Regions from separate parts of the Homo sapiens genome. Here regions 1, 3, 4, 5 and 6 are each linked to region 2. The links are contacts of gene promoters, found by promoter capture Hi-C in human tissues and cell types (Jung and others, 2019). All regions are on one chromosome and are shown on one strand. Each heading gives the region's core, a stretch centred on a gene start or on the middle of the fragment in contact. The rest is flanking DNA. Distances are from core to core; before and after follow the strand shown. Region 1 has its middle 8.8 kb from the start of ITPR2. Region 2 holds the start of BHLHE41 (basic helix-loop-helix family member e41). Region 3 has its middle 33 kb from the start of ITPR2. Region 4 has its middle 72 kb from the start of KRAS. Region 5 has its middle 140 kb from the start of KRAS. Region 6 has its middle 48 kb from the start of INTS13.

Region 1 (4,503 bases), core at 1,177-3,676, 720 kb after region 2:
CCCAGCCACCTTTCCCCCATAGTGTAACAGCCCAATGGGGTTAACCCCACCCCCAACTCCAAGCATGGTTCTTAACTAGGCTAAACCAGTGTTTCTCAAGCTTTAGTACACATAAGAACCGCCTGGAGAACTTGTTAAAACACAAATCCTTGGGCCTTAGCTCCTGAGATTCTGATTTAGCTTGTCTTGGTGGGGACTTACTAACATTCCTGAAGGGGGTGATTGTATGTCGGTAGGGGTTGGGGAGAAGAGGTTGAAACAAACCTTGGCTAGTGGCTCAGAAAATGATCTGTTTTTAATTTTTATTTTGAAATAACCTCAAACTTACAGAAATAATCTCCAATTTACAGAAAAGTTATAAGAATACCTGTGACCTAAATTCAGTAATTTTTATAATTTGCCACATTTGTTTTATCACTGCCTTTACACACGTACGCATGCAATTTATTTTCAGAACCATTTGAGTGTAGGTTGCATACATCATGCCCTATTGCCTTTTAATACTTCATGTATACCTAAGAACAAAGATATAGCCACAGAACAACCATCGAGTTCAGGAAATTTAACTCTGATATACCACTGTCTCAATAGTGTCTTTTACATCATTTTTTTCTTCCAGGACAGAATCCTATTTAGAATTACATATAGCATTCAGTTTTCATGTTTTTTTTGTCTCTTTTAATCTATAACAATTCCTTAGCCACACTTTGGCTTCAGTGACATTGACATTTTTTAAGAATACAAGCCATCTGGCCAGGCACAGTGACTCACGCCTGTAATCCCAGCACTTTGGGAAGTCGAGGCGGGCAGGTCACTGGAGGTCAGGAGTTTGAGATCATCCTGGCCAACATGGTGAATCCCCGTCTCTACTAAAAATACAAAAATTAGCTGGGCGTGGTGGCAGGCACCTGTAGTCCCAGCTACTGAAGAGACTGAGGCAGGAGAATTGCTTGAACCCAGGAGGTGGAGGTTGCAGTGAGCTGAGATCGCGCCACTGCACTCAGCCTGGATGACAGTGCAAGACTCTGTCTCAAAAAAAAAAAAAAAAAACAGAAAAAAAAAACAGAAAAAAGAATACAAGTCATTTACTTATAGGCTGTTCCATAATTGGATTTGTCTTGTATTTCACACTTAGATTTGATGAAGCATTTCTAGCCAGAATACTACAAAAGTGATTTTGTGTTCTTCCCAGGGCACCCTAACCTTAGGCACACGATGTATAGCTATATCTGCTCTTTGTTGACAGTGTCAGTTTTGATCACTCTCAGAGTGTTGTCTAGTGGACAGGAATTTAAGAATAATCCCAAACCAGATCTGTTTTGAAGATGTGGCCCAGAAGAAACAATCTTAGCCTGGGAAAACTCTGGAAATGCAGGCCAATCTCCAGGCAACAAAAAGTCTGACATTCATCTCAAAAATATTGTCTATCACATCTTTTGACCCTTAACCTCTCTGTTTCCAAAGCCAGAGTTTGACATCAATCTACTGTGTTTCCCTACCTGCAGGAGACAAATATAAGCTTTCCATGTGGTGCCTTTGAAGTTCTTCTCACTAGATTAGATCTGAGAGTCAAAGACTTCCCTCCCCATGACTGACACACACACACACGCACACACACATGCATGCACACGTTCTTCTCTCCTGCACTGGGTATGTACGGCGTGAGACGCAACAGAGCAGTAGCTCATTCCAAAACACTCACATCTCCAACAGCCCAACTGTTTCATATCCTTGGTCTGGGAGAAAGATTTTTAAGCATTGTATCCCTTGTGGTCAAATATTTCCTTTCAAAATTTGCATCTTGGTCTTACTGATGGTATTTCGATGCCTCCACTGAAACTCCCAACTTCACATCCCATTAAAATATTCTTCTGAATATTATATATATTCACCATAATCATATGGTGAATATTATATATATATATTATTTGAGGGTCACAGTTCTTAGAAGTATTTACACTACTTGCTGCTGAATCGCTTATGGCTTGATCTGACCCTAATGTCATAATTCTGTAAGGGCTTGGAAATGAAAAAGAGGAGAGGTGTTGTAATTAGAAGTATTTTATGAAGAACTGATACAACTGATACCATTTGGTTCTAAGAACCATGATCAATTAGAGCTGAGAATCATCAAAATATTGAAGAAAAGAGAAAATGGCCCAGTCTCTATAACAGAAAAGAATGGGGAGTTTTAAGAAAAAAATGAGCCAGTCACTGTGGTTCACACCTGTAATTCCAGTTCTCTGGGAGGCCAAAGTAGGCGGATTGCTTGAGCCCAGGAGACCAACCTGGGCTGCATGGCGAAACCCCATCTCCACCAAAAATACAAAAATTAGCCAGGCGTGGTGGTGCATGCCTATAGTCCCAGCTACTCAGGAGGCTGAGGCGTGAACCCGGGAGACAGAGATTGCAGTGAGCCAAAATCACGCCTCTGTGCTCCAGACTGGACGGCAGAGTAAGACCCTGTCTCAAAAAAAAGTATGCATATCTAAAATCTTGCCTACTTCAATTTGCAGTGATTCTTCCCCAAATACAATTTAATGTTCCCATGTAGATGTCAGAAAGCATTTATCAGGCACTTAAATGAATCCCATACCTGTATGCCACAATAGTTAAGGACACAAGTATTGCATAGACCTGGGATGAGTTACTAATTCACAATTTACTCTCTACCAGGCTTTATGCAAATACATAACCTCTGGGGCCTCGTTTTACTTATCTGTAAAATGAGGACAATAATGGTATCTATCTCATGTGGTCTTTGTGAGGTTTAAATTAGAAGTTACATTTAAGGGGCTTGATGTGGTGCCTGGCATAAAGTGCTTAATAACCTTTCATGTTTTTTGTTTTGTTTTGCTGTTTTTTAGAGAGAGGATCTCACTCTGTCATCCAGGCTGAAGTGCAGTGGTGCAGTCATAGCTCACTGCATCCCAGAATTCCAGGGTCAAGCAATCCTTTGGCTTCAGCCTCTCAAGGAGCTAGGACTACAAGGCATAAACCACCACATCCAACTTCAATAAATATTAGCTATTATTATGATTATGATTATCTGTGAGAAAAGCAGCATGAAATGTCATAAGAAAACCAAGCATCAGAGGTGTTTCTGTCTATGCAATAAGACATGCCAGTGACTGAGCCCACACCAGAGCTGTCTCCAGAGCCTCTGGGCCACCAGCTCTGCCATTTACAGATCAATCCCTTCCATCAACTGTAGCGAATTCTTTTTTTGTTGTTTTTTGTTTTTGTTTTTTGTTTTTTGTTTTAAGATGAGTCTTGCTCTGTCGCCTAGGCTGGAGGGTAGTGGTGCCATCTCAGCTCACTGCAACCTCCGCCTCCCAGGTTAAAGTGATTCTCCTGCCTCAGCCTCTGGAATAGCTGGGATTACAGGCCCCCACCACCATACCCAGCTATTTTTTGTATTTTTAGTAGAGACCAGGTATTGCATGTTGGTCAGGCTGGTCTTGCACTCCTGGCCTCAAGTGATCTACCCGCCTCTGCCTCCCAAAGTTCTGGGATTACAAGCATGAGCCACACTGAGCCAGGGCAAAATTCTTGATAATTATTAAATTTTTCTTTTTCAAGGAATTTGAATTTTTTAAAAAATATGTGTAAGAGAAAGAAATCAATTTTTTTAACAGACACGTTTCAGACATCAGGGAAAAGCAAATTTTGAGACAAAAGAAACAAAATGGCTAAATTTCCAGCCTGGTGCTATAAAACCACCCACAATTGTCACATGAGAACTCTGCTTTCCACAAGCTGACAGCTTTTTATCTCTTCAAAGAAGGTAGCGGATAAAACCCACAGAGAAAACTGCCATCTAACACCAGAGAATGCTGCCATGCTTGTGGTTCCTGATTTTTGGGAAGACATAATACTTTGGTTGGGCAAAACCAGGGAGAATAAATCCAGGGAAAACTTCCTGGAGTCCTTTTTCTCACCCCTGTGATTCCCCCAAGTTTACCTTTGTTTTCTCTCATTTATGAATCTAGTTTGAAATGCAGTAATGTGGGTCTACTTTAGTGCATTATTTCGGATGTATACATCCTGATTACCCAACTAATTAGCATCAATTTGTTTAAGGCAAGAACTCTGAGTTGTACTTTTTGTTTCAGAGTGAACACCTAGATGTGAAGGAAGCTGTTTTGTACCTGTTTTTTGTACCTATAGGCACAGTACCACAGTCTACAGTCCTGATTATTTGTAAGAACTCAATATATAAAAAAGAAAGTATAAGAAATCAATGGGAAAGCATGAGATTATACAAGAAATGATGTTATTTACTTACATGGAGAATACTAGTTTAGCAGTTTTAAGCTATCACGTATCTTAAAAATAAATCCAGGGCCAGGTGCAGTGACTCACGCCTGTAACCCCAGCACTTTGGGAGGCCAAGGTGGAAGGATCACTTGAGGTCAGGAGTTTGAGACCAGTCTAGGCAACATAGCCAGACCCCATCTTAAAAAAAAAAAAATTTAATTTAAAAAATTTTAAAAACTACAT
Region 2 (4,769 bases), core at 2,081-4,580:
CTCGAATTAGGTTCCAATTTTAAGAGATAATGGAACATGGCCTAAAAGGGGGCAAAATTTATTTGGGGGATTAAAAAAAAGAGCCAGTGTCTTTCGCATAGGATCTTTTACAGCTGGTGGGGGGAAGAAAGGGATGTTAGTGTGTGGAGGGTGGGGTGGTGCGGGATGAGCAAAACAGGAACTCCGAATGTACACATAACACCTGTTTTGTTGTTCTTGTTTATGCCTGTCGTGCATCTATTACACTTCCTCCCTTAAAGACCTTAAGGGTATTTTAACTTCTCACTCTGCTTGAACCTCCTTAAGGGTATTTTAACTTCTCACTCTGCTTGAACCTCCGTCCTTCGGGACGCAAGGATTCAGGGAGCTTCCTTTCCTGGCTGCGAGGGATCTTCCTGAGCAGAGCTCTCCGGGTTCCCCGGCTCGCGGGGCCCGGCGAAGGGCAGGTGGGTGCGGCCGTGCGGGTGCTGGGGGTGCGGCGCCCCAAGGGGCGCCACCTCGTGCGGCAGGAGGGTCGCGGCGGCGGCGCCCGCCTTCTCGGGAGGGGGCGACAACACCGAGGACAGGCAGGGGAACGCGGCGGCGGCGGCGGCAGCGGCGGCGGCGGCTGCCGCGGCTGCCGCCGGGGCGGGGATGCCGGGGTATAGCAGCGGGAACGGGGCGGCAGCCGCCGCCGGGTACAGATACTTCTCCAGGCCGCTCTTGTCCAGGAAGGGCTGCACGTAGGCGGCAGCTGCAGAAGGCGAGAGGAAGCAGAAGGGCAGGCAGAAGGGGGCCGCGGCGGCCGCGGGCTGCGGGAAGGGCGCGCCTCCGCCTCCGCCGAACGCCACCAGCGAGCTGAGCAGGGCGGCGTCGGGTCTCAGCAGCGCGGCCGCGGCGGCAGGGTCGGGCCCCAGAAGCGCGGCTGCCGCCGCCGCCGCGCCGCCCCCCGGGCCGCCGCCGCTGCCGCCGCCGCGGGAATCCAGCTTCATCCTCTTGGGCGCCGGCGAGTCCTCCCCGGGAGGCTCCTGCTTGATGGTGACGCGGCTCGCCCCCGCGCCTTTGCCTTTCTCGCGGTCCGGCCGGGCCTCGGCTTCGCCGCCGTAGCCGCTGTCGGTGTCCGTGTCGTTCTCGGCGGCGAGCTCGGCGCTGGGCTGAGTCCGCTGGATGACGGGCACGCAGTAGGCGAGGGGCTCCAGCTTCTGCCCCGCGCGCTCCAGGCAGGGGGCGGCCGCGGACCCGGCGGCCGAGGGAGCGCCGGTGCCTTTGCTCAGAGGGACCTGTTGAGTCAACAGCTGCGGGGTGGGCAAGAACTGGGTGGCCACGGCGTGCAAGTGGTTGATCAGCTGGACACACCGCGGCTCCCTGGGTGTCCAGCTCTCAAACCGGGAGAGGTATTGCAAGACTTCTTTGGCGCATGTTTGAAATCCCGAGTGGAACGCATCCAAGTCGGACTGAATGGGCGATTTCAGAGATCGCTCCCCTAGGATGAGGAAGGGATGGGGGTGGGGGACGGAGGAGTGGAGGCAAGAAGAAACATACCCACGTTAAAACATCTGCTTATCACGTGGGCCCTGCATCGACTAAAGTGATCTCGGTTTTTCCCCAGTATTCAAGTGATATAATCCACCAGTTGACGAGAGAAGCGGGGTGGCGGAGGTGCGGAGCGGGGAGAGGGCGCTCTCCTCCCAGCTGAAAACCAAAGTGGAGCGGGTGCAACCGCCACTTTAAATCCTGATTCCTCCGAGTTCTGCTGAAAGCCTCTAGGATGCTTCGGGAAATGGGCTCGTTCCAATGAAGGGAAAGTATAAGCAATTTAACAAATGAGAGGGAACCCATGAGCCCACGGAAAGAGATGGGGTGCGGGTGAGGGAGTCCTGACACTGCTCCCCTGTGGGCTGCCCCGCTTCATCAGGGTAGGCTGGCCTCCCTGAACTGACTTACCATTCTGTAAAGCAATTATCTTCTGATGCTGTTGCTCGGTTAAGGCGGTTAAAGCTTTTAAGTGTTTCAAAGTTAATTCCAAGACTACAGCTTTCTCCAGATGTCCCAGAGTCTGCAGTGGTGCAAAAAAGAAACGGGCACTTGGTTACTTAAAAACACACATTTGGCTTAATTGGCTGTCCATTCAGCACAGCAATTTAAGCAAACACTTTGAAAGAAGTACTGTTCTTTTACTTCTTGAGCTTTCCACAAGACAGGTTATAAATGATTTCTTGCCTTCAGCTGGGAGCACCTACTCCAGTTTGCGGGAAACTCTGTACGGTATAGCACAAGTTTTAAGTCAGGAACTTATATTTACATTTATTCTTATATTTTCTGGGAGTCGCACCAGACTATTAACACGCCCTTGGAGAGCAGCAAAGAATGAAAATGTGCATCTTACTGTCAATTTCAGATGTTCAGGCAGTAAATCTTTCAGCTGAGCAATGCATTCATTAATTCGGTCTCTTCTTTTCTTTTCTATTAATCTGTGCGGTAATTTGTAGGTATCCTTAATATATGAGAGTCATGGAAAAGAGAAAACAGTAAGCGAAACATTCACTTATTGGATATTACCCTCGTCTGCCCCCCCCGCCCCCCCACCATAAAACATACTATGTGATAAACTACACCCAAGAAACCTCTTTCCTCTGGACTGTTCTGCAATGCAATTTAAATTCAGGTATGATGTTTAATATCCCCCTGAGAGTACCCAGCAAGCCACTTAAAATTCACAGTTGGGGAAGCTCAGGGGCTGGAATATATTTGCGGGCAGAGCTTCACTGTGAAATCAATGGCTCTAATTAACTACCCATGCAGGTTATGAGGAATATCGGGAACTTACACTTACCTTGGTGTCGTCTCGTTTCATGCTCCTTTTGGGTTTACACATATACAAAGAGGAATAGTCCAGTCTGCAAAACAGAAATCAGCATCAGGCACCCATTCGGGGAGGGGCTCTGCCCTCGCCAGCTCCATACCACTTTCTGGAGAAGAAAAAAATCAAACCAAAGCCTAGACAGATATTCGCAAGGGTGCGTGCACCTTACCCTATAAAATCTCTATGTTCCAGTAACTGTCTCTCTTGCAAATGAGGAATTCCTTCGTCCATGTTCAACTGCTGTTCGTTTCCTCTGTTTCGATTTTTGGGGCTCTGTACAATAATCTGTGGGACGGTAGGCTTGGGAGACCTTGGGGGGATCTGTGCGTCTCCAGTCTCTCTCTCGCTCTCCCTCTTCAGTGCAGTGTTGAAAGTGTGAAGCAGTTGGTCCCCCCCCTCCACCGCGCTCGCACACACACACGCACACACACGCACACTCGCGCCGGCCCCACTGCGCTGGTAGTTTGCTCTCACTCCAGGCAGTGTTTGGCCACAGGGCACGCGCGTCGCCGGCCAGACCAGCACCCAGCTCACGTGCGGAACGTACCATCCGCGGTCCAGCCCGGAGGGGGGCGGGGGAGGAGGGGCCGGGCCGGGCGGGGGCGTCGGGAGAAGGCGGCGAGAGAAGGCGAACGGCAGGAGGGGGCGGGGACACCTGATCAGGGCCACCGGAAAGGAAAAACAACTTCGGCCAAGCTATTCATCTTCCCAAAGGCGATGCAGTCGGCAGGAGGAGGGGGGAGTGGGGGTGCAGGGGTGCGGGGCAGCCTGAGCTTCCTTGGCTCCAAAATGCGACTCCCTGGGTTCGTCCGTTGTTACGGTGCAGGAATGTGAACGTGGCTTTTTGCTTTTCCACCGATTGTGCTGTTGGTTTGAACCATAGAAAGGAAGTGAAAAGAGAATTCGCGGTGGGTAAACTTGAGTCCCAAAGGAAATTTTGGAGACTTGTTTGCTCACTGATCAGTGGCCTGGAGGGACTCCTTGGCGCTGGGTGGAGAGGTTGCCTCGAGAAGAAGCAACTTGCAATCCGCTCCTTGAAGGATTTAAGATACATGAAAACGTTGTCACTGGGTCCGAATGTCGCAATCCAAGTGTCTTTCGGTGACACGGCGTCCCTGGGCCAACTAAACTTCCCCGCAGCAGCCGGAATTGCGGTGCCACTAATCACAGCAGCAGATGACGACGTTTGGGGCCGCGTGTGCTCCTGGAGGAACGCGGCGGGGAGCGAGCCGGGGTTGAGTGGGGGCTGGGAAGGGAGAAGGGGGTGGCACGAGAGGGGGTGGCACGAGAGGGGCTACCACAGAAAAGCTATGCAGCATTTATCACCCGCCCGCTCAACTCTGCCGCGTTCTGAGCCTCCGGTGACGCTACGTGCTTTCCCCATCCCCCCGCCCCCCCGCGCGATAAGAGACGCCCGGAGTGTGCAGAGCCCACGTTTACTACCGCTGGCACCTCCAAAGCCTCCCTCCTTAATCCGGTCTCAAACGGGTACCAGCACAGGGCCAGCAACGTGATCCGACCTGCCGCTGCTGCCACATCACTGCTCGGGGAACCCGTGCGCGCGCGCGCTCGCCCTGCAGCCGCGGCGCTCGGCGCCGGGAATCACAGGCCAGCAAGAGCCGGGTTACCTTTCCCCAGAGCCACCCTGGGAGCATGACTCACTGCTAGTGAGAGTTACCGGGAGGTGCCCGGGGATGCGCACTGCCCACGCCGCCCTGCCAGCCCAGGGGAAGGCATGTCCTGAGGGACTCCCAGGGGTGGGATGGAGGCTATATATATATTTCTCTAGATATACATAAAGACATAGAGAAAAAAACCAAGGTTTTTCCTGCACAGAGAGGGATATTTACATTCTCCCCGGGGTGATCTCTGAAACGTTGATTATTGCCGGTGATAAGTGAACCGAGGGGAGAAGAACGCCAAAGGT
Region 3 (4,324 bases), core at 836-3,335, 740 kb after region 2:
TTTTTTTTTTTGGTTTGTTTGAGACAGAGTCTCACTCTGTTGCCTAGGCTGGAGTGCAGTGGCACAGTCTTGGCTCACTGCAACCTTCCCCACCCAGGTTCAAGTGATTCTGCTGCCTCAGCCTCCCGAGTAGCTGGGATTACAGGCATGTGCCACTACACCTGGCTAATTTTTGTATTTTTTGTAGAGATGGGGTTTCACCATGTTGGCCAGGCTGGTCTCGAACTCCTGACCTCAGGTGATCCTCCTGCCTTGGCCTCCCAAAGTACTGGGATTACAGGCATGAACCACCGCACCTGGCCTATGATGGTGTTTTTAAGCTGCCAATCATGACTCATCAGTGAATTGTGAAGTCAATTTACTGGATTTCGACCAGTATTTTTTTTAAAGAAAGAATAGAACAGAATAGAAACTTTCAGAGCACATTCTACATAGTAAGTAAGTGTTGTTTTATGACATGTTATTTTCAATTCTCTGTATGTAAATATATGTGTTGTAAGTTGCAACAGAAATCTATTTCTTACGGTAGTGTTCAAGAATTTTGAGGGCCACAGCTTCATAAGAAATCCAAAGTGGCTCTTCTTAGAAGGCTAGTCCCTTTTCCAGTATCTACAGGGAATAATCAGATCCAGGAGACCCAGTCTTCCCATTTTCCTCTATCTCTGGTTGACATGAGATTTCCTAAAGATTCAGATATCTAGACAGGGAGGATGATCAGCAGTGCATCCACCAACCAGCTGAGAAGTAAGCTTCCCTGGACATAGTGCTCAGAGTACTATGGCATCACATGAGAGGACCTCAAGGAGAACATAAGGAACACAGATGACAGGAAATTAGGACACAGGGCAGGAGTGAAGAGGACATGTGTATGAAGCCTTAGGTTGCCAGCCATGTTTATAAGCAGCATGAATCAGAACAAAGATGAGAAGTAGGCTGACCATTTCTGCAGTGTAACTCATCAAAAATCTGCAGAGACAGTTGAAGTTAGTGGTTGGGTGTTTGGGCCCAGCAGCATAACCCTCTGGGATCTAATCCCTGTTCTCCTCTTACTAGTTTGTCTATTATTGGGAATGTTAACATCTCTGAGCCTTATTTCCATCATCTCTCTCTATATATATTTATATATAATATATAACTATACCACACATATATATAAATATATATATATATATATATATATATATATTTTTTTTTTTTTTTTTGACAGAGTCTTACTCTGTCACCTAGGCTGGAGTGCAGCAGGGCAATCACAGCTCACTGCAGCCTCAAACTCCTGGGTTCAAATGACCCTCCCACCTCAGCCTCCTGGGTAGCTGGGACTATAGGTGTGCACCACCACGTCTGGCTAATTTTTAAAACATTTTTTTTTGTAGAGACAGGGTCTCACTATTTTGCCCAGGCTGGTCTCAAACTCCTGAGCTCAAGTGATCCTCCCACCTCGGACTCCCAAAGTGCTGGGATTACAGGTGTGAGCCACCACACCCAGCCTCTATCATCCATAAATTGGAAAGAAAAGGGTTATTATCTCATAGGATTTTTATGATTATTTAATGAGTCAATGCATGTGAAGAAGTTACATTGCTTCTGGCATATAGTAATGATTCAATGAAAGTACTTGTTATTTTTTGAGAGATTTTGGAGATGAGAGGGAGAGTAAGAGCAATAAGATTATGAAATGAGATAAAATACAATGACTCTCACAATATAATTACAATATTTTTGTTAAAAAGATATGACTCGGTATATGACAGCCCTGAAACTACTTTCAACATTTTCTTCTCTGGTAAAGATGTCAGTTTCTCATCACACTGGCTTGGTTGAAGTTACCTTCATGCATTTCATGATTTGCAGAGATCAAGGAGAAATTAATATTAAATCAAAAAATTCAAATATTAATTTTAAAAAATACTTGTTTTTTAAAAATCTAATCTAAACCTCCCTTACTTTAAAATTGTCTGCCTAGGTGTGTTTCTTACATTTGGAGACACTCTAAGAGACACCAGTTATCTAGGGCAGGGAGGGTCCAGGCAATTAGATCAAGAAAAGTACAGGAAAGAGTGTGGGCTGCAGGGGTGGGAGGGTAGCTACCTGTTGAGGATGAATTGATGCCAGGAGACATGTAGTTCCCAAAGGTGGGCCCCAGATTCCAGAGAAGGGCAATTGGGTGAATACCTCACGGAAGCCCTACTTTTCTGGCAGGCACATGAGTCTACAGGGGAGAACTGTTGTAAAATTACAGCCTGCAATTTAGAAGTAATCCCCCCATTAAGGATAACTTTGCCTTTCCACCAGAACTCAGGGACAACTAAAATGTAAATGGTGATAATGTATTGTCAGACCCCAACAGACATGTTTTTTTTCCTTACCTCCCAAGGTAAGAGAGTAGAGACAATGCATACTTTTAATCTCTTTTTTCTATCTCCTCTATCCTACTCTCCTTCCCAAGTTCACCCTTTTTCTTTTTATTTTTTTAAAGACAAGGTCTCACTCTGTTGCCCAGGCTGGAGTGCAGTGGCACTATCATAGCTCACTGCAACCTCAAATTCCTGGACTCCAGCAACCCTCCCACTTCAGCCTCCCCAGTAGCTGGGATTACAGGCATGAGCCACCACATGCAGCTCTCTCACCCTTTTTCTTCATAGAAACTGTTGTCTGCCTAACATTAAAGGTGTACTTTAGCTGGGTGTGGTGGCTGATATCTGTAATTCCAACACTTTGGTAGGCTGAGGTGGTAGGACTGCTTGAGCCCAGGAGTTTGAAACCAGCCTGGGCAACTTAGTGAGGCTCCTGTCTCTATATAAAAAAAAAAAAAAATTTTAATTAGCCAGGTGGGGTGGCACACGCCTATGGTCCCAGCTACTCAGGAGGCCGGAGTGGGAGGATTGTTTGAGCCTGGGAGGTTGAGGCTGCAGTGAGCTATGTTCATACCATTGCACTCCAGCTTGGGAAACTGAGCAAGACCCTGTCTCAAAAAGGAGGAAAAAAAGTGTACTTTAGTAAGCTTGCTAAGCATTAATTTCTAATTAAGATTTTATTTAGAAATAAAGTTTTATTACAATAAAACTTAATTAGAAATAAAATAATAAACCATAAAAGACTATCTTAAGACTTTACTTCTTTAATATAAGAAGAGCTTATTCCAATGGTTTTATTTATCTTGATTGAAGTTTGTATCTTTTTCACAAAAGAGTGTTTTTTAGTATCTCCTTTCCACACAATGCTTGTATTTTTTATCAGTTGGCTTGCCTCAATTGGATTCAACCCAGGAGGGTACCTTTTTTTTTTTTTTTGCAGAAGTTGCTCAAACTGAGTACTGACTCCTCTCACACGGAAACCACAAGTGTCAGTTTTTCTTAACTTGAAACAAAATTATTCTCCCCGTCTTACCAGCAGTTTTCCAACACTTGCTAGTTTGTGATCTTTCTGTTTCATAAACTTGACCATCTTAGTTATCAACTGACTGAACTGGCCAAGCCCTACCAATGTCACCTGTGTCTATCATGAGTAATTTCTGTTTAGGGCCTACTATTTACAGGGACCTTTTAAACAGATGAATAAAGCCTTTTTCTCTATCACTAGGATCTCTGTCACCGGTGGGAAAAATTTTAAGACACACATGTGTTTTGTTAACTTAAAAAAACATGTAATTTATAATTTAGAAAGGAGACTATTTCTTGTAAAGAATTACAGCCTGCTAATATCCGGAATCTACAAAGAACTTAAACAAATTTACAAGAAAAAAAAAAACAACCCCATCAAAAAGTGGGTGAAGGATGTGAACAGACACTTTTCAAAAGAAGATAATTTATGCAGCCAACAAACATATGAAAAAAAGCTCATCATCACTGGTCATTAGAGAAATGCAAATCAAAACCACAATGAGATACCATCTCATGCCAGTTAGAATGGCAATCATTAAAAGTCAGGAAACAACAGGTGCTGGAGAGGATGTGGAGAAATAGGAACGCTTTTACACTGTTGGTGGGAGTGTAAATTAGTTCAACTTGTGGAAGACAGTGTGGCAATTCCTCAAGGATCTAGAACCAGAAATACCATTTGACCCAGCAATTCCATTACTGGGTATATACCCACAGGATTACAAATCATTCTACTATAAAGACACATGCACACATATGTTCATTGCAGCACTGTTCACAATAGCAAAGACTTGGAACCAACCCAAATGCTCATCAATGATAGACTGGATAAAGAAAATGTGGCACATATACACCATGTAATACTATGCAGCCATAAAAAAGGATGAGTTCATGTCCTTTGCAGGGACATGAATGAAGCTGGAAACCATCATTCTCAGCAAACAAAC
Region 4 (4,466 bases), core at 100-2,599, 800 kb before region 2:
AACTTGGGCTCAGGAAATTCCCATCTGCTCATCTTGCAACTGTCAACCTTGAACTTCCTCACACATCAATGCATCTCATTCCTGACCTTTTTGGTCCTAATCGTTGGTGTCTAGCTTCACGGAGACTGGCAACCTCAGTTAAAACTACTTACGTTGGTGCTGCTCCGGACAAACTTTTAGGAAAGTCAGCATAGTGATAAGTGAAGCACAGACTCTTGACGATTTCAACTATCTGCGCTATATGTATTTGAAGCTTGGCTGTGCTATTTATAATGATTTTGGAAACCTGGCATAACTTTTTGTGTATGCTTCAGTTTCTTAATCTTCTGAATTACGATCCTAATAGTGCTTAACTCATAAGGTTGTTATAAGGATTAAATGAGTTAATATCTCCAAAGCACTTAGAAATGTTTCTGGCACATAGTTTTTATGTCAAGTAAAGGCTATTTCCTGTGGTTTCCTCTTGGTACCATTTTAATAAATGCAGACAATTGGCCCCATGGCCACATGGCCTAACCAGACACCACCAGTTGGCAAAGAGCATGAGTGATCAAAAGTAAGGAGCTAGGAAAGTAAAGAATGTCGAATTAAGGGTCCAGTCTGGCTAAAGCACTGGGCTCAGGGGACTGCATATGCAGCCGTGATTTTAAAAGGTTGACAAGGAACAGGTTGTGGAGAAACTTAAATACTAAGATGGGGAGCTTGTCATCTATTCTGTAAGCCATGTAGCATTGCAAGATAATAGTGCTCTAGAAGGAGTTCTAGCAGTAGTAACGAGGATGGACAGGAGGCTGGGAGATAAGCAAGAAAATATTTTTAGAAAAGTTGCAATCATCAGGCAAGTGGTAATGAGACGCAAAACTAAGGTGGTGACAATGTCAGTAATATCAAAAGAGAAAATGTTACAATAAAAGAGACTATTTGTAAGCAAAACTAAAAATGTATAAAAATTATTTGCCTGGCTGTGATACGTCAGGCACATAGAAGGTGCTTTGTGAACATTGTTTCATTTAACTGGTGCAATACCTGGGCTGAGTAAATATGGGTACCTGATTAATTCAGATGAAGAAACTCAGGGAGATCACGCAATTAACCTGAGGTCACAGTTCTGGAAAGTGGCACAACAGGGATTCAACCCAAGTCAGTCTGGTTTCAAAGTTTCATCTTTTTTTTCACCGTTTAAATTCATGTAGGGTATGAGAGAAAGGGAGAGGCTGAATGTGCTCCCAAATGCTCTTGGAGGCTGAAAATGTATTAGTTTAGATGAGAACATTTCAAAGATGAGATGCTTCATTTGGCTTTGAAATTTAAAATTTTAATTGTTTTGGAGATATGGCAGTTTAGCAGGCAACTGGAAATTCAGATGCTGAATTAGGAGAGAAGTCAGGACTGGAAACACGTATTTTGGAGTCATTTGCAGAAAGTTGAAAAAGTTGAGTAAATAAGCTTTCCAAAAAAGATCACCAAAGAGAGTAAGATAAAAAGAGGGTCAAGAAAGACTCTTTGTAGTATTTCATTTAATGAGTAGAAGTGAAGGAAAATCTGTGAGGTACAGTGAGGTTAAAGGTTCAGAGAGGGGAGTCTAAGACTTCAAGGAAGAGAATTCAACAGGAAGTAGGTGTCAGCAGTGTCAGATGCTGCCGAGATCAGAGAGGGTAAGAATAGAGAAAAGTCCAATGAATTTGTGTTTAGGGAGGCCACTGGGGACATTTAGGAGAACCATTTTTGTAGAGTGGGAGACCTAGATTTAAAGTGACCATTTTGTAATGAAGGTAGAAAAGCAGAGGGGACATTAAAATGGGGATGGGAAACACCCAGCATGTTTCCATTAATAGGTCAAGGAGAAATCAAGAAGAATCAAGAGTGATTGACACTTTGTAGAAGGATGACTGATGGAGGGCAAGGCCGTGGAGAAGGCTGGAGAGAATGAGAACAGGGCATAGATGAGGAGTTTTCCCTGGAGAGGGGGTTAGTCTCTTCCTCTTTAGCCATCTGAAGAAATTCAGGGTAGAGGCAGTAAAGGACATGTTGCCTGCTCTCTCTTTCCTTAAAAAAGTAGATGCAAATAATGATCTGCTAAAGTTGAAGGGCTTCGATGGGGTATTTGAGGGGCAGAAGAAGAGTGTAAACAATCCAGGGCTTTCTTTTTTACCTTTTACTACCATATTGTTAAATGACTCATTGCAGACACTGCATTTCCTTTGTCTTCCCTTTATTGGCTTGTGGGTTGTTTTTACTGGCATCAAGCGTGAGATATAGTATACTTCCAGCTCTTTAAAGTGTTCTCATTTTTTCCTGGAACTTAGGAAATATATTTACTATTTCATGTAAAAAGTGAGAATACCAAAAGAGGATACGATTGTCACAAAACAATAAGCAAGTTAATTAAATAAGATATGGCAACTCAGCATAAAAATACTGAAGTGATGAACCATAAATGAGATTTTTAAAAAATGAATTCCTTAAAATGATAGTTAAATCACTTAAGTAAGCTTTGTCTTAGATGGCCATCACATTTTCTAAGCATTATCCCAGAAAAATGAGAAGCATATTTTTACTTTCAAGCATTGTTCCTCATACTTCATTTGCCCTATTTCAAGATAAGAAGAAATATCTTTCATAATGTGAGTAACAATAAAACCACTACTGATGATAACGGTAATAGAAACATTCCCAGTTCTTCCAAATTGTAGGTCAGGGACTGAACTTCAAAGGAAAGACTCTGAAATTCATGCAGAATGGGATGAATTCCAGCCCACCCACTGCAAAATGCTTCCCTACTCATCTATTTTCCAGAGATATGCTTAGTGTCGTGGGCATGCTCAGGGATTTTCCTGGTCATGGAGAAATGGCTGGTGTGTAGCTGCTCTGGTTCAGTTCTCATAGCTCTCTGAGGGACACAGAAAAGGGCTGAATCCAGCAGCTGTCTTAGCTGAAAGCTAAGGGGAAAAAGTGAGAGGGGGATGGTGAGATCAAACTTTCATGTGTGGCCCATTTTTGATGTGGCTGAAAGAACTGGTTAGAACAACACTTTTCATCTTGAGGAGCTCAGATATTTTTGGCCTCCAGATAATTCTATATGTGGATGGGCATAGTAACTAGCACAAGATTAAAGAAAAGACGGAAGAGGCACTCAGTGATGTATTTAGTTTGTTTAGTAAAGGCAGAGGTTTAATCACACACTTGCATTTTCCCTCTTCAAAACTTTTTCCCTTGAGGAAGAGCCATGCACTGTTTTACTGTTTACTAGGTGACAGTAAATTCTGTAATATGCATAGTGTAACTCTATGTTAGACAGTTACATAAATTAACCCATTTAATATTATCAACAACCCTGAAAGGTATATTTTGTTGCCTCAGTTTTGGAAGTGGAGACACCAACTGTCTAGAAAATAAGCCAATTTCCCAAGACCATTCAGCTAGAAAACAGAGAAACTGAAATTTGAATACAGATTGTGTGGATACAAAGCCCATGCTCCACCAAAGGAAGCTTATCCATGGACTTCCCCTACCCCTACCCACACATATACTATAGCCCTCCACCCAGAGATAGTCTTATTTTTTCTCTTGATTAAAAAAATAATAATAATTCCAGGGCAGGGTGGCTGAAGCCTGTAATCCCAGCATTTTGGGAGGCCGAGGTGGGAGGATCACTTGAGGTCAGGAGTTCGTGACCAGCCTGGCCAACATAGTGAAACCCCGTTTCTACTAAAAATACAAAAATTAGCAGGGCATGGTGGTGTGCACCTATAATCCCAGCTACTTGGGAGGCTGAGGCAGGAGAATCACTTGAACCCAGGAGGCGGAGGTTGCAGTGAGCTGAAATTGTGCCACTGCACTCCAGCCTAGGTGACAGAGTGAGACTCCATCTCAAAAAACAATAATAATAATAATTCTAAATTTTAGGCTTAAAAAGTCCTGAAGAAGAGAGCTCTAAGATTTGACTTCTGAAAGGTAAGTTCCAATGTTACCAATGTTCACTCTGTTAAATTTTTATGAGACTCTAAACCACTTTTAAAAATGTAATAATGGTCTTTGAGCAAAATTGGAAAATACACATACATACATAATTTAGGATACACTGAAGTCTGGCTTCAGCCTCCGAATTCAGACAAAATTTACTGTTTGGTTTCAGTTTCAGACTTGACCTTGACTTTCGAAAGGCAGAATGGTTGAATGCCTACTCTATAATATAATGTCAGGAACACAAACAAGGTTTGTTATTCTGATTAACATTAATATCTGAATATTCACTTTCAAATATAAGTGATTATAATATTATATATAGTATAATATGAATACATAAGATTTCTATTATAATGCTCATCATGTAAGTATTCCAGATAGTACTTTGAGTAAAAATTCACTTGTGCGCTTTGTTCCAGTTTTGACAGTTGAAGTATAAATGCATTTTTACTATTCTGAGAGTAAAATGCTATAATAATTAATGATTATAAAGTTACTAA
Region 5 (4,603 bases), core at 1,289-3,788, 730 kb before region 2:
GAGGTGACAGCGTGCTGGCAGTCCTCACAGCCCTCGCTCACTCTCGGCGCCTCCTCTGCTTGGGCTCCCACTTTGGCGTCACTTGAGGAGCCCTTCAGCCCGCCGCTGCACTGTGGGAGCCCCTTTCTGGGCTGGCCAAGGCAGGAGCCCACTCCCTCAGCTTGCAGGGAGGTGTGGAGGGAGAGGCACGAGCGGGAACCGGGGCTGCGCGCGGTGCTTGCGGGCCAGCTGGAGTTCCGGGTGGCCGTGGGCTTGGGGGGCCCCGCACTCCGAGTAGCTGGCCAGCCCTGCCGGCCCCAGGCAATGAGGGGCTTAGCACCCGAGCCAGCGGCTGCGGAGGGTGTACTGGGTCCCCCAGCAGTGCCAGCCCGCCGGCGCTGCGCTTGATTTCTCACAGGGCCTTAGCTGCCTTCCCGCAGGGCAGGGCTCGGGACCTGCAGCCCACTATGCCTGAGCCTCCCACCCCCTCCATGGGCTCCTATGCGGCCCGAGCCTCCGTGACGAGTGCCACCCCCTGCTCCACAGCGCCCAGTCCCATTGACCACCCAAGGGCTGAGGAGTGCGAGCGCATGCCACAGGACTGGTAGGCAGCTCCATCTGCAGCCCTGGTGCAGGATTCACTGGGTGAAGCCAGCTGGGCTCCAGCTGGGCTCCTGAGTCTGGTGGGGACGTGGAGAACCTTTATGTCTAGCTCAGGGATTGTAAATACACCAATTGGCACTCTATCTAGCTCAAGGTTTGTAAACACACCAATCAGCACCCTGTGTCTAGCTCAGGGTTTGTGAATGCACCAATGGACACTCTGTATCTAGCTACTCTGGTGGGGCCTTGGAGAACCTTTGTGTCCATACTCTGTATCTAACTAATCTGGTGGGGACGTGGAGAACCTTTGTGTCTAGCTCAGGGATTGTAAACGCACCAATCAGCCCTCTGTCAAAACAGACCACTGGGCTCTACCAATCAGCAGGACGTGGGTGGGGCCAGATAAGAGAATAAAAGCAGGCTGCCGGAGCCAGCAGTGGGAACCCACTCGGGTCCCCTTCCACACTGTGGAAGCTTTGTTCTTTCACTCTTTGCAATAAATCTTGCTACTGCTCACTCTTTGGGTCCACACTGCCTTTATGAGCTGTAACGCTCACCGTGAAGGTGTGCAGCTTCACTCCTGAGCCAGCGAGACCAGAAACCCACCAGAAGGAAGAAACTTTGAACACATCCGAACATCAGAAGGAACAAACTCCGGACGCGCCACCTTAAGAGCTGTAACACTCACCGCGAGGGTCCGCGGCTTCATTCTTGAAGTCAGTGAGACCAAGAACCCACCAATTCCAGACACAACAGCACATGCCCTGAGGTGTGGCAGACTTGGGTTCCTATCTCAGTTCCTGGACACAATAGTTGCATGATCTCAGCATATTTATTCTCTCTGTGTCTTGGTTTCCTCAACTGTAAATTAGATTAGAATAACGTCTATCTCAAACAGGTGTTAAGAGGATTAAATAAGATATTCTAAGTTTAGCTCTGAACACAGTGTCTTACACAGAGTGAGTGCTCATTTTTGTTGATTTTATTTTTATTAAATAGCTCTATTTTAATCTATATAAGGTATGACCCAAGAGGAAGCACTACTTAGCCTAAAGTATTATTGAATTGTTTGCCCAAAGATTTAGTAGAGCCCATTGACATTACGTATAAGTGAGTCAATTACTTGGAAAATGGAAAAAAGGGAAAACTAGGTTTTTTCCTCAGAACCCTTCTATGAAAGGGTTTTCCTTGGAAGGATAACCCTTGGAAGATAACCCTTGGAAGGGCTATCTAGTGGATATTTATCCGCTAGAGCCTGGGTGTGACCTGGGAAGTCCTCACAGCCTCTTGCTCCACAGAGAAAGAGGCCACTGCTCAGTAGTTAGGATAAAATCTAACCCCAACTCCTGTGTGGACGGGATGGAGATGGCAGAACAATCTAAAAAAAAGGTATTGCTGGCCGGGCGTGGTGGCTCAGGCCTGTAATCCCAACACTTTGGGAGGCCTAGGTGGGCGGATCACAAGGCAGGAGTTCGAGACCAGCCTGACCAACATGGTGGTCTACTAAAAATACAAAAATTAGCCGAGTGTGGTGGCAGGTGCCTGTAATCCCAGCCACTCAGGAGGCTGAGGCAGGAGAATTGCTTCAACCCTTGTGGCAGAGGTTGCAGTGAGCCGAGATCATGCCACTGCACTCCAGCCTGGGTGACAGAGCCAGACTCTGTCTCAAAACAAAACAAAAAACATATTGCTTTCTTTCCTTTTCTGAAGTTACCATAGTCCAGGAATAAAAGGGAAGCTGTTCAGGATGCCCATTTTAATTTTTCAGTGGCTTGATTTTCAGGTATTTTTGGTAAAGATACATACTTTCTTTCCCCTTTATTATCAAAGGAGTATGTACTTGTAATAAACTCAAAAATACTGAGGCGTCTAAAGTAAAAGATGATGGTTGCCCTTGCAACACATACTTTTAAACTCAGAAATCTCTCTACTTCCAACTTTTATCCTTATGAGTATATTAAAATAAATATGAAAGTGTGTGAACAAAAGAAATTGGAATGCATTACTTTAAACTTAATTCAAAAGGCTAATTAAGTTTGAAATTATTCTAAATGACTCTAAGTGAGGATTCAACATTCATTCATTCAGTAAAAAAAGGTGTTTCCATCACATTTTTGGCCTCATAGAAAGTTATTCCTGAGGACACACTTCGCTGGCTGTCTTCTCACTTCCTTTTTCCTTTGACCTGAACTTATATAAAGTGCCATTTGCAAACCATTTCTTCTTTTTCAGCCCTCAAAAACTCCAGCTCCTACGAAGTTATTCTATCCAGCTTTATGGGAGCCTACCGTTTTATGTGCTGTCATCTATGATCTCTTAAATTACTTCATGTCCTTCGTTGAAGATTGCAGCACGTGGCTCACTGTCTCCTTCTTCACTCCGCTTTGGTCACCATTTTCAGCAACTGCGACATCCATGTGCTGTCCCATTCAACATCACACGTTCACAGTTTCCGGATCTCCTTCTTTCTAATGATCTTTTTATCTTCCTCCATTTCATCCTCCTCCTTCCAGTCATGACTTCACCTTCCTGTTACCAATAATTAGATTACCTTCTAAAACATTGATTGTTTCAAGCCTTTCCTCTCCCGCCAGTGCATTTACCCTTGGAACTCCTACTTATTGACTCTACAACTTTTTCAATATCCATTACCTAATGAATGGCTTCATTTCTGCCCCCGCCCTCACCGCCTTTTTTTTAACTTTACTCTGTATCTCTACCCAGTAAAATGTAAGCTCCACGAAGACAAAAGTCTACTTTTTCACTCTTAACTCTAGTGCCTGGACCGGAATCATGTCTGATACATAGAAGGAACTCAATAAACATTACATAAATGCATGAGAGGCCAGGCGTGGTGGCTCACGCCTGTAATCACAGCACTTTGAAAGACCGAGGCGGGCAGATCACCTGAGGTCAGGAGTTTGAGACCAGCCTGACCAACATGGTGAAACCCCATCTCTACTAAAAATACAAAATTAGCTGGGTGTGGTGGTGCACGCCTGTAATCCCAGCTACTTGGGAGACTGAGGCAGGAGAATCACTTGAACCCAGGAGGTGGAGGTTGCAGTAAGCCAAGATCGCACCATCGCACTCCAGCCTGGGCAACAGAGGGAGACTCTGTCTCAGTAAATAAATAAATAAATAAATAAATAAATAAATAAAATTCATGAATGCCTACTGCAGCCAAGCATTTGGCAAGAATAAAGAGACAAAAATAAAACCTCTACCCTCAAGAAGTTTAATCTATTTATGCATATGTATTTGCACATGCATGCACATTTCAACTATTTTTCCTTGAATCAACTGCCTATTCTTAGTTCGTTTAAAAAATAATCTTACATTTTATTATTCCAATGTCCTTATACTAGATTTGGAAAGTCTCTTACTAGTAATAAAATCTTTCAGCTTTCCAAGCATATCTTTTAGGTATATAAGTAATTGTGCAAGGCATTGAAAAACCCTAAAAATAATTAGCTATTTTTTAAATCTACTTGGTACAAACAACTATCAACTCGAAAACACTAGAAACTGATGATGTTGGCAATCAGTCTTCATGAACAGGACAGCATTCAGGTATGTTAGGAGTTTCATATTATTTTCATCTACTCTCATCTCTAGCCCCATTGATAGCCCAAATGTCACCATTGTGCAAAACAGAAAATTCCCCTACTCAAGACACTTTTTTGCCATCTCCTAGAAAATTGTTGTAATAACTATATAAATCTGCAATGATTACCAGTATGAATGGCTCCCATTAATGTTATACACTTCCACAGTTTAAAAATATTGTTCAACCCACTATTTCCAAAATTTATTTGATCATGGAAACTTTCTGTATGCTACTTAAACATATCAGATGGAACTAACATTATTATTATTATTATTATTATTATTATTATTATTATTATTATTGAGATGGAGTCTCCCTCTGTCACCCAGGCTGCAGTGCAGTGGCATGAACTCGGCTCACTGCAACCTCCGCCTCCCAAGTTTAAGCAATTTTTCTGCTTCGCCCTCCTGA
Region 6 (5,009 bases), core at 1,251-3,750, 770 kb after region 2:
TGGTTCCTTCTCCCAATGGGTAAGTACCAGAGTAGCTGTGTGTAGTGCTCAGTTTATGAGTGTAGTCAAAAAGCAAGGATAGGATTTGAAGAAATAAAATCTTGTATTTAAAAAAGAATGAGGAACAGAAGACATAGAGATGTTTTCACAATGTTGCTAAACAATAAAACCTTAAAACAAAGCTTATTACAATAATCCCTTGAATGGGAAAACAACTCCCAAGTAAATGAAAATTGGAGAACTAAGTTTTTATTTCTCATATCATTTTATTTTATACTCATCGACCACGTACTAGCTGAAAACAGTCCTTTCTCTTTTTCTCTTTTGAAAGGCAGCTTCTTGTATACATATTCGTCTATAAAAACATAGAACGTATCTGAATATTCTGGTAACGTAAGTGAAAGAAACTAGGAGATTGGGCAATGAATCTCCTATTTTACCTTTTGAATTTTTATATTGTGTTCATGTATTATCTATTTTTAAAAGGTTAAAAGGCAGTTCTACATAGCCTAACAATTCACATTCAAGTATTTTTATCTTCCTCAAATTATTTTCAAATGTAGACATAACCATGTCATTTACTCTCTCTTTCAACCTAAACTTTGAAGTTTTCTCTCTAGAAAGTTACCTCTATCTTCTAAAAGAATTTTTATGCAAAATTGTGAAAATTATAGATCAGGCCAATAATAACTAACTCCCACACAGCAATTCACAATTTATAAAGTACTTTCATATATGTCATTCCATCTGTTTTCGTTCTTTTGTTCATTGACTCACTCATTCATTCAATAAGAATTTGGTGAGTGCCTAAGCGTCTTATACAAGACTCCTGAGATAGGAGTTGAAGATAATATGAATAAGCTGCTGTCAAGCAACTCATAGTGTAGTATTCCAGTAGGGTACACAGAAATGTAAAATATAAAAATTAAGAAAGGATTTTATTTTTATAAATTTTTGTAACAAATTTTAAATTTTTACTATTCCTTTTTATTTTATTATATTTTATCATTTATAATAACATTTTAAATATTTTTAATAAATTTATTTTATAAATAAAAATTTTAAAAAATATGAAAAATATTTAAAAGTATGACTGCAATAACAGAACCATATATAACATATAGAGACTAAATTAGTAGCTTTAACTAATTTAGTTGTTTTAATTTGGATGGAGGATGTTGGCAAAAACTGGATGAAGTAATGTCCATAATAGATTTCTTTCTTTTTTTTTTGAGAGGGAGCCTAGCTTTGTCACCCAGGCTGGAGTGCAGTAGCGTGATCTCGGCTCACTGCTACCTCCACCTCCCAGGTTCAAGTGATTCTCCTGCCTCAGCCTCCCAAGTAGCTGGGATTACAGGCGCCTGCCACCATGCCCGGCTAATTTGTTTGTATTTTTAGTAGAGACAGGGTTTCACCATGTTGGTCAGGCTTGCCTTGAACTCCTGACCTCAAGCGACCCACCCGCCTTGGCCTCCCAAAGTGCTGGGATTACAGGTGTGAGCCACTGCACCCAGCCCATAATGGATTTCTAAAGTTGAAAAAGTTAGCTAGCCAGAAATGCATTATAGGTTGAAATGACTGCTCATTTCAACCGGGCTGTCCCACCCTCAGAGCCTTTCTGGTCCTGTGAGAATTACTACTTTGGTTTCCATTCAGCAAACCACACTCTTCTAGAGCCGCTGGCTTCCAACGCCAGCTCTGAACTGCAGCCTCACCATGGGCTGTTACTGAAAAGAGCACATTCAATAACTGCAGGGGCCACTGACCAGTACTTGTATCTGAGAGGGGACCCGCTGTTGGTCTAGCTGCAAAAAAGATGAGAGATAAAGAAATGTAACAAAGCAGTGGCTCGTGCCTGTAATCCCAGCACTTTGGGAGGCCAAGGTGGGTGGATCACCTGAGGTCAGGAGTTCAAGACCAGCCTGACCAATATGGTGAAACCCCATCTCTACTAAAATTACAAAAATTAGCTGGGCGTTGTGATGCGTGCCTGTAGTCCCAGCTACTCCAGAGGCTGAGGCAGGAGAATCGCTTGAACCTGGGAGGTGGAGATTGCAGTGAGCCGAGATCGCACCACTTATTGCACTCCAGCCTTGAGACAGAGCCAGACTCTGGAAAAAAAAAAAAAAAAAGGAAATATAACAAGCAAAGCAGAGGGAGAGATAAAGAAAATTGAAAGGAAGGGAAGGATATGGGATATGGAGAAGGAAAGGACAAAAGGAATAATGAAGGGAAGGACAGAGGGAGGAACATGAGGAAAGGAAGGATAGAGAAGGCCAGAGGGAGGGAAAGAGAAGGGAAAGAAAGGAACAGTAAAGGCCCAGGGTAGTGAAAGGCTCATCAGTGTGCCAGCTCACTCGCAAAGTGTCTTACCTCAATTAAGATTCAGAACATCCCTGCAAGTTAAGTGCTATTCCTCTTTTTTATTTGAAGAAACCGAGACTCAGATCAGTTAAATACCTCAAAATAATGTAGCCAGTCTAACCGACAAATTGGAGTTTAAACTTTTAAACTCCAAAACCCACAGCTGTTCCATTGAAATCCCCTACTTTCCCATCTGAAGTTAGAATAACTGGATTTAGATCAGGTGCTTACTCTACGTCTTTGGGTACTTAGCTACTTTGAAACTTAGCTTCTTCAACTATAAACTAAGAAAAATAATAGTTGCCCTCTCTTCCCTCCTAGTTGTTGGATGTAGCAATGAGAGGATGTATGTGAGAATACCACATAAACTCTGAAGGAATACATAAAAATAAGGGATTGCTAGTCAAGCAGTAATCCATGCTGTGTTTTTGTTTTAAATCTTCAGCATTAGGGCCGAAGGAGGTTCAAAGGAATTTTCTGCCATTATAGCTGAAATTACTCTTAAAGCAGCTGCTGAAGCTCTTGGTGTCCAAGAGCGTCTCTTTTTGGTATACACGCTGGCCGACTATTTCCACTTAGATCCTTCTTCAGTGACGATGAGCCCATTCAGAAGCAAGATAAACAAGCATCTGTGGAATCTTCCAGTGATGGCTGAAGATCCTAGGCATGTCATCACTTTACAAGGTGACCTTGTACAATTCCACTGGCCTATGGGATATAAGGTTTCCACAGTACTGCCAGAGCTAATGCAAGTGTTTCAACAGCAAGCTTCCTCTAAGTATCTTGCCCAAGTTTTAGGATATACAATTGAAGGTTGGAGATTACTTCAAAAATCTCAAACAAGAAGACCCAGGCAGTTAAGCTCAATCCCCACTTCAACGATGGGGCCAACTGAACTCATTACAAAGCTAAGCAAACCTTTCTCTGTTTTGTTACCCACCTCAGTGACTCACTGGATGCCCAAAGATGAGGCATCGCCAATTCCCAGCTTATGTGCTGCCTTGAGACAGATCACTCCTATCCCTGATCCCAACTTTATTCCAAATACTGCAAGGAGTTTATTCCAAAAGTGCACAAAGACTAAAAGGCCACAGCATACAGCAGTGTCACAGAATTCGCTACAGGAAATGTCCTTGACTACAAACCTTGAATATTCTGCTGCTTTTGCTGAAGTCACTCCTTCGATGGTACTAATGGCTACTGCATTCACAGATTTTGACTTCCTTCAGGGTAGAACTTCTACAGTGTCAATGTCAGTAGAAAATCTAGACTCTCCAGAGTGGGAACTAAAAGGACACACCCTAATCCACGGGACAGAAATACAAAAGCACACTATTTTACCCGACCTTGTCTCAGAATCAATTAGTCAAGCCGGGTATTCACAAGCTCTCCTTTCATTATCCAAGTACTCTCATTTTCTTAAGCCCTCAGTAATGCAGGATATAGCCATGCCTTCAGAAGTACTGTCTTCAATGACAACATTTCTCAGCAAATGGAGTGGCTCTGTTCCAGTCGACTGGGAAAAATCTGTACATTCACCTGACAGTCTCTTGACACCTACAGCATCAGCAAGGGAGACACTGGCAGCCTCCCATTTTCCCCTTGAGTTCAGTCAAGTACTCCTGTCAAATCAGCTAAGTCAACAGCACCTTCATGAGCATAATCACACATCTGACACTCCTGAAGTTTCTCAACAGATTCATTCATTCATCATTCCTACAGAAATAATTTCAGCTCCTGGCATGAGCATAAATACAAAATTTGTATGGAATAGTACATCTGACTCAACTCTTTTGCCCATGGAAACTGATTGTTTCATCAGCAAACTCGTAGATGAAGGCTCATTGTGTGATGGTGATGTGATTATCAAAACTCAGTCATATTCTAAGGAGACCCCATCATTTACTCAATTACATGACTTATCTGAACTGTCCCTTTCTGAGGTGTCTAAATTTTCAAATGCATTTGAGTTACCTGAAAATATGGGCTCAAAAACTATGATGCATATTCTTAGTGACTGGTTCTGAGGCACAGAACATTTAGCTTTCAGTGGATTCTCAAGAACTAGCCAGATTTTGCCAGGCAATACAGTACTTAACTTGGATTCTACTGACATGTTTATAAGTTACCCACATACCTCCAAAAACGTATTAACAGCAAGATACAGGACTATCTCTGACTTTAATAAGGTACAAGGTAAGATTGTGGGAGTTGTTGAGCTTTCTCTTTGCCATATTTTTCAGAGAATATTTATACTAACAAGCAGCAACCAACTAAATAATTAAAACAGAGTAACCTAGTGGTAACCGTGTGATGAAATTACATGTGCTTGATTTTCTTCTCTACATTTGTCTATATTTTCCAACTTTTTCAAGGAATAGAGTTGTTTTTAGGAAGAAAAAACTTTAAGAATATATCATGTAAGAAAAGTCAACAACAGGCCGGGTGTGGTGTTTCATACCTGTAATCCCAGCACTCTGGGAGGCCAAGGCAGGAGGATCACCTGAGGTCAGGAGTTTGAGACCAGCCCGGCCAACATGGTGAAACCCCGTCTCTACTAAAAGTACAAAAAATTAGCCAGGCGTGGTGGCAGGTGCCTGTAATCCCAGCTACTCCGGAGGATCAGGCAAGAGAATCGCTTGAAC

The links. The method cuts DNA at HindIII sites, captures the fragments that hold promoters and counts their contacts. A contact is called where the count stands out against the background at its distance.
Region 1: a contact is called between a fragment that was not itself captured here and the fragment with the promoter of BHLHE41 in region 2, in 1 of the 25 tissues and cell types used here (lymphoblastoid cells).
Region 3: a contact is called between a fragment that was not itself captured here and the fragment with the promoter of BHLHE41 in region 2, in 1 of the 25 tissues and cell types used here (mesenchymal stem cells).
Region 4: a fragment that was not itself captured here is called in contact with the fragment with the promoter of BHLHE41 in region 2 in 2 of the 25 tissues and cell types used here (heart left ventricle and thymus).
Region 5: a contact is called between a fragment that was not itself captured here and the fragment with the promoter of BHLHE41 in region 2, in 1 of the 25 tissues and cell types used here (mesenchymal stem cells).
Region 6: a contact is called between a fragment that was not itself captured here and the fragment with the promoter of BHLHE41 in region 2, in 1 of the 25 tissues and cell types used here (lymphoblastoid cells).

Annotation. Positions count from the first base shown.
Region 1 is chr12:26,839,734-26,844,236 of GRCh38, forward strand. No RefSeq gene overlaps it. Among named protein-coding and RNA genes, the nearest start is that of ITPR2, 8.8 kb to the left of the region's middle. The HindIII fragment of the contact is 3,235 bases long and covers 810-4,044 here.
Region 2 is chr12:26,121,707-26,126,475 of GRCh38, forward strand. It overlaps BHLHE41 (basic helix-loop-helix family member e41), which reads right to left and starts at 3,331. Exons shown (of 5, transcript NM_030762.3): 1 at 3,012-3,331; 2 at 2,813-2,876; 3 at 2,366-2,473; 4 at 1,924-2,035; 5 at 1-1,462. The coding sequence starts at 3,073. The coding sequence ends at 360. It also overlaps a transcript of SSPN not described here. RefSeq lists a silencer at 4,743-4,769. The HindIII fragment of the contact is 3,249 bases long and covers 568-3,816 here.
Region 3 is chr12:26,863,898-26,868,221 of GRCh38, forward strand. No RefSeq gene overlaps it. Among named protein-coding and RNA genes, the nearest start is that of ITPR2, 33 kb to the left of the region's middle. The HindIII fragment of the contact is 3,541 bases long and covers 316-3,856 here.
Region 4 is chr12:25,320,928-25,325,393 of GRCh38, forward strand. No RefSeq gene overlaps it. Among named protein-coding and RNA genes, the nearest start is that of KRAS, 72 kb to the left of the region's middle. The HindIII fragment of the contact is 3,284 bases long and covers 1-2,991 here.
Region 5 is chr12:25,391,249-25,395,851 of GRCh38, forward strand. No RefSeq gene overlaps it. Among named protein-coding and RNA genes, the nearest start is that of KRAS, 140 kb to the left of the region's middle. The HindIII fragment of the contact is 4,501 bases long and covers 289-4,603 here.
Region 6 is chr12:26,887,939-26,892,947 of GRCh38, forward strand. No RefSeq gene overlaps it. Among named protein-coding and RNA genes, the nearest start is that of INTS13, 48 kb to the right of the region's middle. The HindIII fragment of the contact is 6,896 bases long and covers 1-5,009 here.